Regions from separate parts of the Homo sapiens genome. Here region 1 is linked to region 2. Evidence: promoter capture Hi-C in human tissues and cell types (Jung and others, 2019). All regions are on one chromosome and are shown on one strand. The core of a region is centred on a gene start or on the middle of the fragment in contact, and the rest is flanking DNA. Distances in the headings are between cores, read along the strand shown.

Region 1 (3,502 bases), core at 197-2,696, 70 kb after region 2:
GTTTTAAGGAGATTTGAGCAGTCCACCTCCATGGCAACCCCATAAAGTAATTTAAAAAAAAAAGAACCAAGTTGGAGAGCTCATCCTCCAATTTACTAATCTTGCTTTTATATTTCAAGACCTACTATAGCTATAGTAATCAAAATAGTTTTGTGTTGGCAAAAAATAAACATATAGATTAATGGAACAGAACAGAAAATCCAGAAATAGACCCATGCATATATTGCCAATTTTTAATAAAAGTACTAAGACAATTCAATTTGAGGGGGGAAAAGGGCCTTTTCAAAAAAACGGTGCTGGATATATCCATAAGAAAGAAAAAATAATAACCCTATTAACCCTTACCTCATACCATATACAAAATTTAACTCAAAATGGATCATAGACCTACATATAAAACCTAAAACTATTACACTTACAGAAGAAAAGAGGAGGTGACCTTGGAGTAGACAAAGGTCTCTCAGAACACAAAAAAAGTAGGAGCCATAAAGACACTTGACAAACTTGATCAAAAATTTAAAACTTAATCCTCAATAGACACAAAGAAAATAAAGCAGAGCACAGACTAAGATAAAGTATTCAAAACAACACGTATCAGACAACTCGAATCCAGAATATATATATATTAAAAAAGTCAATAAGACAACCCCATTTTTTTAAATGGGAAAAAAGATTTGGCCAGATGCTTCATAAAAGATATATGAATGGCCAGTAAGTTCATTTGAAAATGCTCAAAATTATTAATAATCAGGAAAATGCAAATTAAGATCGCAATCAGATACCTCTAGAATGGCTAAAATTCAAAGACTGAGAATGTGAAGCAACTGTAACTCTCATATACTGCTGATGGGAATGCAGTGGAACCTCGGAAGATAATTTGGCAGTTTCTTAAAAAGTTAAATATACACCTGCTATACAGCCACTGTTAGATTTTTACTCAAGAGAAGTGAAATATATGTCCACACAAAGACTTGTGCACTGACATCCATCATAGCCTTGCTTGAAACAGCCAAAAAAAAAGGGGGGGGGGGAAGGAAACGATGGAAATGCTCCTTAAGAAGTGAATGGGTAAACTGTGGCATAGCTATGCAATTGAGTACTGCTCAGCAATGTTAAGGAACAAACTATTGATATGAACAATAAGAATGAAACTCAAAATCAATATGCTAAGTAAAAGAAGCCAGATGAAAAAGAGTACAGACTGTTTGATTATGACAATAGAATTCCAGAAAGCACGAACTGATCAATAATGACAGGGAGCAAATCAGTGGTTATCAGGGGATGGGTGTGGAGGAAGGATGGGTGACAAGTGGGTGATGGAAATTAAATGCCACCTTGATTTTGTAATGGTTTCACAAGTGCATGTGTATATGTTAGAGCTCATAAAATAGTACACTTTAAATATTTGAGGTTTATTGCATGTTACTTATGCTTTGGCGAAGTCCTTTAAATGGGATGGGGGAGGGTGGGTCTGATGGAAGGAAAGCAACCCCACCTCTACAGTAAAAAGATTTGACACGTGCTCTGGAGGAAACCTAGGGGAAAGTGATATGGTACTTTGCTTTCATATTTATCTACTTAGTATCTGCTTCTTCCCCAGGGTGGGGAGGGGCGAAGGCGGAGCAATGCCTAGTGCCAACCAGTTGTGGCGTTCAGGCTCCTTCCAGTGCTCTCGCCTGCTAAGCTGGGGTGGGCACAGGGAAGACCCTTCCCCGGGGCATGGGGAGCCGGCAGGGCTGGTTTCAATGGCAATCCGCCATAGGGTCCCGCGCTCAGAAGGGGTCCCGCTTGGAATCTAATGAATGCTCTGCAGTCACCATATGAAATTCTTAATCATTTTTCCTTCAAATTCGTGTATTGTAAGTGAAGTGCAATAACACAGTGGATGCTTGAGAGCTTGGACTCTTGTCTCACCCCGGTCGCGTCTCCTGCGTCTTCCTGGGACAGGTTCTGGGCCCCCACCCGGCGAACACCGCTGCCCTCCGCCCTGGGCAGTGGCCGGCCACGGACGTGGGGGCGGCGCAGACCTCGGCGTACAGCCAAGGGACCTCGCCGCCACGCTGGGTCGCCTGTGAGGGTCGGCCTTTGGCCCGCCAGCGTCCCTGTGCTCAAGCCAGCGCAACTTAACTAGCAAATAAACCCTGCCGAGACAGGTGGACAGAAAGACCACGGGAGAAAGGGAAAGGCTTTTTCCTGCTTTTTGAACGCGGGGCCCCGCGTTTTTATTTTGCACTGGGCCGCGCAGATTCTGCGGGCGGCACCGACCGCAGGCAGCCGGCTGGAGACCGCTCGCCGCACCCCCTGCCTCGCCTAGTGCCCGAGCTGCTCCAGCTGTGAATGGGACACAATACGAGGAGCTGGTTTTGCTCCTGAAAGCGTCCAACAAAAATCTGGCTCGATTCGCCCTGCTTGGGAGTGACAGAGACCCAATCTTTGTCATGAAAAGCAGGAAACGGGAGGGCAGCTTTGCTCTCCAGAGCAGGGAATGTGTCTGGGTAGAAGCAGGGAAAGTTCCTGCCCACCTCAGATTTTCTTCTGGATGCAGACTGCCCTGTTCTTTGACTTCCTCTCCAGTGTGGAATAAGGCTGAGGGTCTCAATTTGGTGAAAAAAGTAACCATGACAACAGTCACATCGTGGAGAGCATAGTAAAATGTGTAAAGCTCACTGGCAATGCCTTCCCTTCCAGAATGAAAGCTCCTCTAGTCAGACAACGACTCAACGGCACCAAAAGAGCGGAAGGGAAGACCAGACCAGGGAAGGCTTTCCGTGCCCTGCCCTGGGGCCTTCCACAGATTAGGGGACCTCCGTGATTTGTCAGCTCTTTGCCTCCAGCTTTCTCACACGGTCCGGGGCTGCTTTCGAGAGCTTATACTAAAAGGGCAAGAGCAGAGATGAGCTGTTTTTAGGAAACATGTGCTACAAATGAAGTAAACCCATGGAATTTCAAAATAAAAATAAACTTGGAAAGTTCCACTAAAAGGCTTAGGGCCTGATAGAAATTGTGCAGGAATCCTCGACTCCGAGGTTTGAAGAAGGACTGGCAGAAGCTTGTCCACCTTCGTCTAGATGAGGAGGGAGGTGCTTCTCTTCCTGCCACAGGGGAGGCTTCCCACTCAGTCCTCCTTCCATAGGCAGGACGAAGCAATCGCATCTTTAGGGGGCACTGGTTGGAATGAGAGACAGGTGGCCTGGGCTCCAAACTCTGTCACTAATTAGCTGTGGGACCTTGGGTACATAGTTTAACCTCTTAGGATGCTCCAGTGCTTGCCCTGCTCTGTCCGTGGAGATGCAAGTGCCTTGCAAGGAGAGGAATGTGTCATGTACATAATGTGATTTGTAGGCACACATCCTCATGTGTTCATTTCTCTTTGCTCTTCTCCCAGCCTGGCAGAGTAGGGTTGATTGGATCTGGAAGCTTTTTGTGAGGTGAGAGCAAAATCTTTCCTCAGTTGGCTCTGGGCTGCACAGCTGGGGAGACTTTGGGAGAGAACAGAAGCTTC
Region 2 (3,471 bases), core at 256-2,755:
GTGAGTTATCATGAGATCTGGTTGTTTAAAAGTGTGTAGCATCTCTCCTGGCCCCTCTTCCTCCTGCTCCCACCATGTGAGATGTTCCTGCTCCTGCTTTGCCTTCCTCCATGAGTAAAAGCTCCCTGAGGCCTCCCCAGATGCAGGTGCTGCCATGCTTCCTGTTCAGCCTGTGGAACCATGAGCCAATTAAACTTCTTTTCTTGTAAGTTACCCAGTCTCGGGCTTTTCTTTATAGCAAGGCAAGAATGGACTAATACACATACCAATTCTTGCAGGTAGGATTTTTTGGCACAGGAGAGAAAGCTGAGTAGTATCAGACTTCTTGCCCCCTACTCTCCAGGGTGAGCCAGGGTAGAGCCTCTGAGAATGCACAAGGAAACTGAAGTGACATCTCAATCAGAAATTCTGAGTCAAAGTTTAGATTCCTGAGTTTTAATAGGAACATTGACCAACTTCAGTATTCTTAGAAGAGCATACAGGATAAGAAGAAATTAGGAAAGCATGAAGGTCCAAGTGTTTCATAAAGTACCCCCACTGTGGGGATATGATGACTGGGAGGGGATGGCAGTGATGTAAAAAGCTTTGTCCATTTCCTCCCAACTCAAACGTTCTGTGACCTACTTGAAGAACTGTCATGTATCCTTATCTCTTTTCATCCAGGTATCAGGTTTAGGGCCAATGGGGAGGAGCCACTGAGAGGGAGGGTTGACACTCAGCATCATTCAGATCTTCATTTAATTCAGTAAACACTTAACTGAGCACTTCCTGTGCCTGGTATGATAATGGGCATTGGAGATACGGAAGTAAAAAAGACAGGCAGATTACCCTGTGAGCAGCTGGAACACCGTGGAGCCTTCTGGGCTTCTCTTTATCCTAACATTCATTGCAGTTACTGTTGACTGATCATCTCTCAGCAATACCCACCATTAACCATGGAATAGAAGCCTCCTGAGGCTAGGGGCCATGTCACCCCCAACACATAGCACAGTTCCTGATTTGGAATTCACTATTACCCGTTGAATAAATGAGTGAATGAACGAATGAATAAATGAAAAGCTGTATAGTGAAGGCACTTCTATGTAGAACAATGTGGTGTGTGGTGGGGGGTGTGATCTTATGATTACATGTATATAGATTTTTGTCCATGGTTCTTGTCCATAACTCCCATGACACTTGCTGAGGTCTTTTGCTATAATGTAGAGGTGCTTTAGGCCTCAGGAAACAGAATATTTCTCTGGCCTTCTTTGCCCTCCTTTCATCCACCCAAGGCGGGACTCTATAATCTGATTGTGGGTCATAAGACCCTCATTCCAGAGGAGGTCATGCCCCATACCCTGGAGGAAGGAATGCTGCACAAAGAGAGGAAGAAGAATCTGGACAGACAGACCTTGCTGAGATTAGATCATACCCTTTTTGTCCAATCACATTTTGTTCAATCACATGCTTCAGTCATGGACAACAAATGAAATCTCCATAAAAGGCCCAAAGGACAGGGTTCAGGGAGTTTCTGGAGGGCTGAACACGTGGAGGCAAACAGGAAGGTGAAGAAGAACTTATCCTATCAGGACGGAAGGTCCTGTGCTCGGGATCTTCCAGACGTCGCGTATGTATCTCTTAATCTGACTGAGCCCTCAACCTGTGGGATCAGACACTCTTTCCAGGTAGATAGTGTTGGAACTGAGTTGGAGGACACCCAGCTGGTGCCCGCTGCTTGGTGTGTGGGGGAAAATCCCCTACATTTGGTCGCAGAAGTCTTCTGTGTTGATGACTGTTGTCGTGGTGTGAGAGCAGAGGGAAAACACTGCTTGAGTGTTTTTCTGAAATAGGAGGGCCTAAGAACTATACTGTTCTATGCCACAGAACTGGCCCCCTACTTTCCTTGAAAGGCTGGCTATCCAATGGTGAGGAGAGGAAGTGGTAGCCTGAACCAGCCTCCCCATTTCCCCACCTCCCACCCCAGTTCAGAGCCCAGATCCAGTAGACAGAGCAGAGATGAGGCCTGCTTGGAGCCAGGCAGGCTCTATTAGACAACTTCAGGCCAAGAAGCTGCCCCTCTTGGGATGCAGGACTCAAAAGGCTTGTAGCATGGCCACCCCGTGGGCTGGGTTGGTGGAAAGCCTGGGATATTGCTCTGGGGCAAGAGGGGCAGAAGGAAGCGCAAATGAAAAGCCAGACTCCTTTCCTACCAGACTCCACTGTCAGATCCCTCTCCAACTCTTCCTGTGTGGGATGATGGCATTTTTCACAGAAGAAGGGGGACATGTTGATATGGCCTACAAGGTAGACATCTTCACTCATCTCTCACCCTAAAGTGGCTGTGCCCAAGCAGCTGCCATGCTCTGCCCTCTTTCCTCTTCTCCTCTATCTTCTCTCTCCAACCCTCTTTCCACCGCAGTGCCACACAGTGACCTATCTCCATCACTGGCCTATTTCAGTGTTGCCCACTTTAAGGCCTAACTCCGAGTACCCTTCCTCATCTAGCCTTGACTTCCTAGGCCAGTCCCAAGCACTGTGAGCTCTACAAGCTGCAGGGGCTCTGTGGTTATGCACCTGGGCTTTGGAATCAGACCTGACCTTGAAACTGTTTTTTAACTGCATGACTTTAGATATGCTACTCAAGTTCTTTAAAGAGACTGTAATTGTATCTATTTCATAGGGTTGTGAAGCTTTAATAAGAAAATACTTGTAAAGCACTTGTATAATAAATGTTCAACACGGGTTGGTATTGTTGGATATGGGCCATATGAACTGGCTGAGACTTACACTGTGTGTGCCTTGTGCTGTTAGTTGACACTTTAGTTCTTCTGTGCCTTGTGCTGTTAATCGACATCTTAGTTCTTCCACATCCTATTTCTTCAGTTGGGTTACAATATTCTTAAGGCAGGGACCTATCTTAACTGTCCTCTCACAGCAGGGACTTGTGCCAAGTAGGAATATTTGATTAATGGATTCATTAGCTAATCACACTTTGTAGATGCTTTTTGAGGAACAGAACTTTTGAATGCACGATAAACTTGGGTTCTCGTCTGAATACCATGGCTTTGAGGTTGGTTATATGGAGCCTTTCAGTGTGAATCCCTAAGCCTCTTGAGATTTCTTGAGAGGCAGATATGCCTGCATAGCCTGCCCTGCCTGATACTTCACAGAATGGGCTGCTACTTTTTACTTATTATTAAAAAAAAAAAAAAGCTATCAATCTGGCCTGTTTTGTTGACACAGGAGGCTCAGGATATAATGCGGACACAGGGAGATATCTCAATTCCCTTTTTTTGGAGACCAAAGCAGCCAAGAACATTGTGTGCTATCTTTACAATGAGAAGTAGTTTTTCCATTAAAAGGCAGATGCTTCATTTCCAAAAGTTAAATAGAATGGTCCTTAAAAATGATTCCAGCTGGTTAACTTTAGGGCTCTGGAGAATAAAATCAAATTCAAGAATATACCCCAACTTTAGTTCCACAGCATTTCTT

What was found. Contacts are between HindIII fragments. The study calls those that stand out against the background at their distance.
Region 1: a contact is called between a fragment that was not itself captured here and the fragment with the promoter of CYP19A1 in region 2, in 2 of the 25 tissues and cell types used here (adrenal gland and lymphoblastoid cells).

What each region holds. Positions count from the first base shown.
Region 1 is chr15:51,266,049-51,269,550 of GRCh38, reverse strand. All of the region lies in intron 1 of CYP19A1 (cytochrome P450 family 19 subfamily A member 1), which reads left to right. All of the region lies in intron 1 of MIR4713HG (MIR4713 host gene), which reads right to left. Among named protein-coding and RNA genes, the nearest start is that of MIR4713, 26 kb to the right of the region's middle. RefSeq lists an enhancer at 2,052-2,685. The HindIII fragment of the contact is 4,024 bases long and covers 1-3,458 here.
Region 2 is chr15:51,336,630-51,340,100 of GRCh38, reverse strand. CYP19A1 (cytochrome P450 family 19 subfamily A member 1) reads left to right here and starts at 1,505. Exons shown (of 10, transcript NM_000103.4): 1 at 1,505-1,606. RefSeq lists cis regulatory regions at 1,199-1,228, 1,293-1,310, an enhancer at 1,262-1,341 and promoters at 1,262-1,580, 1,003-1,580. The HindIII fragment of the contact is 2,870 bases long and covers 1-1,626 here.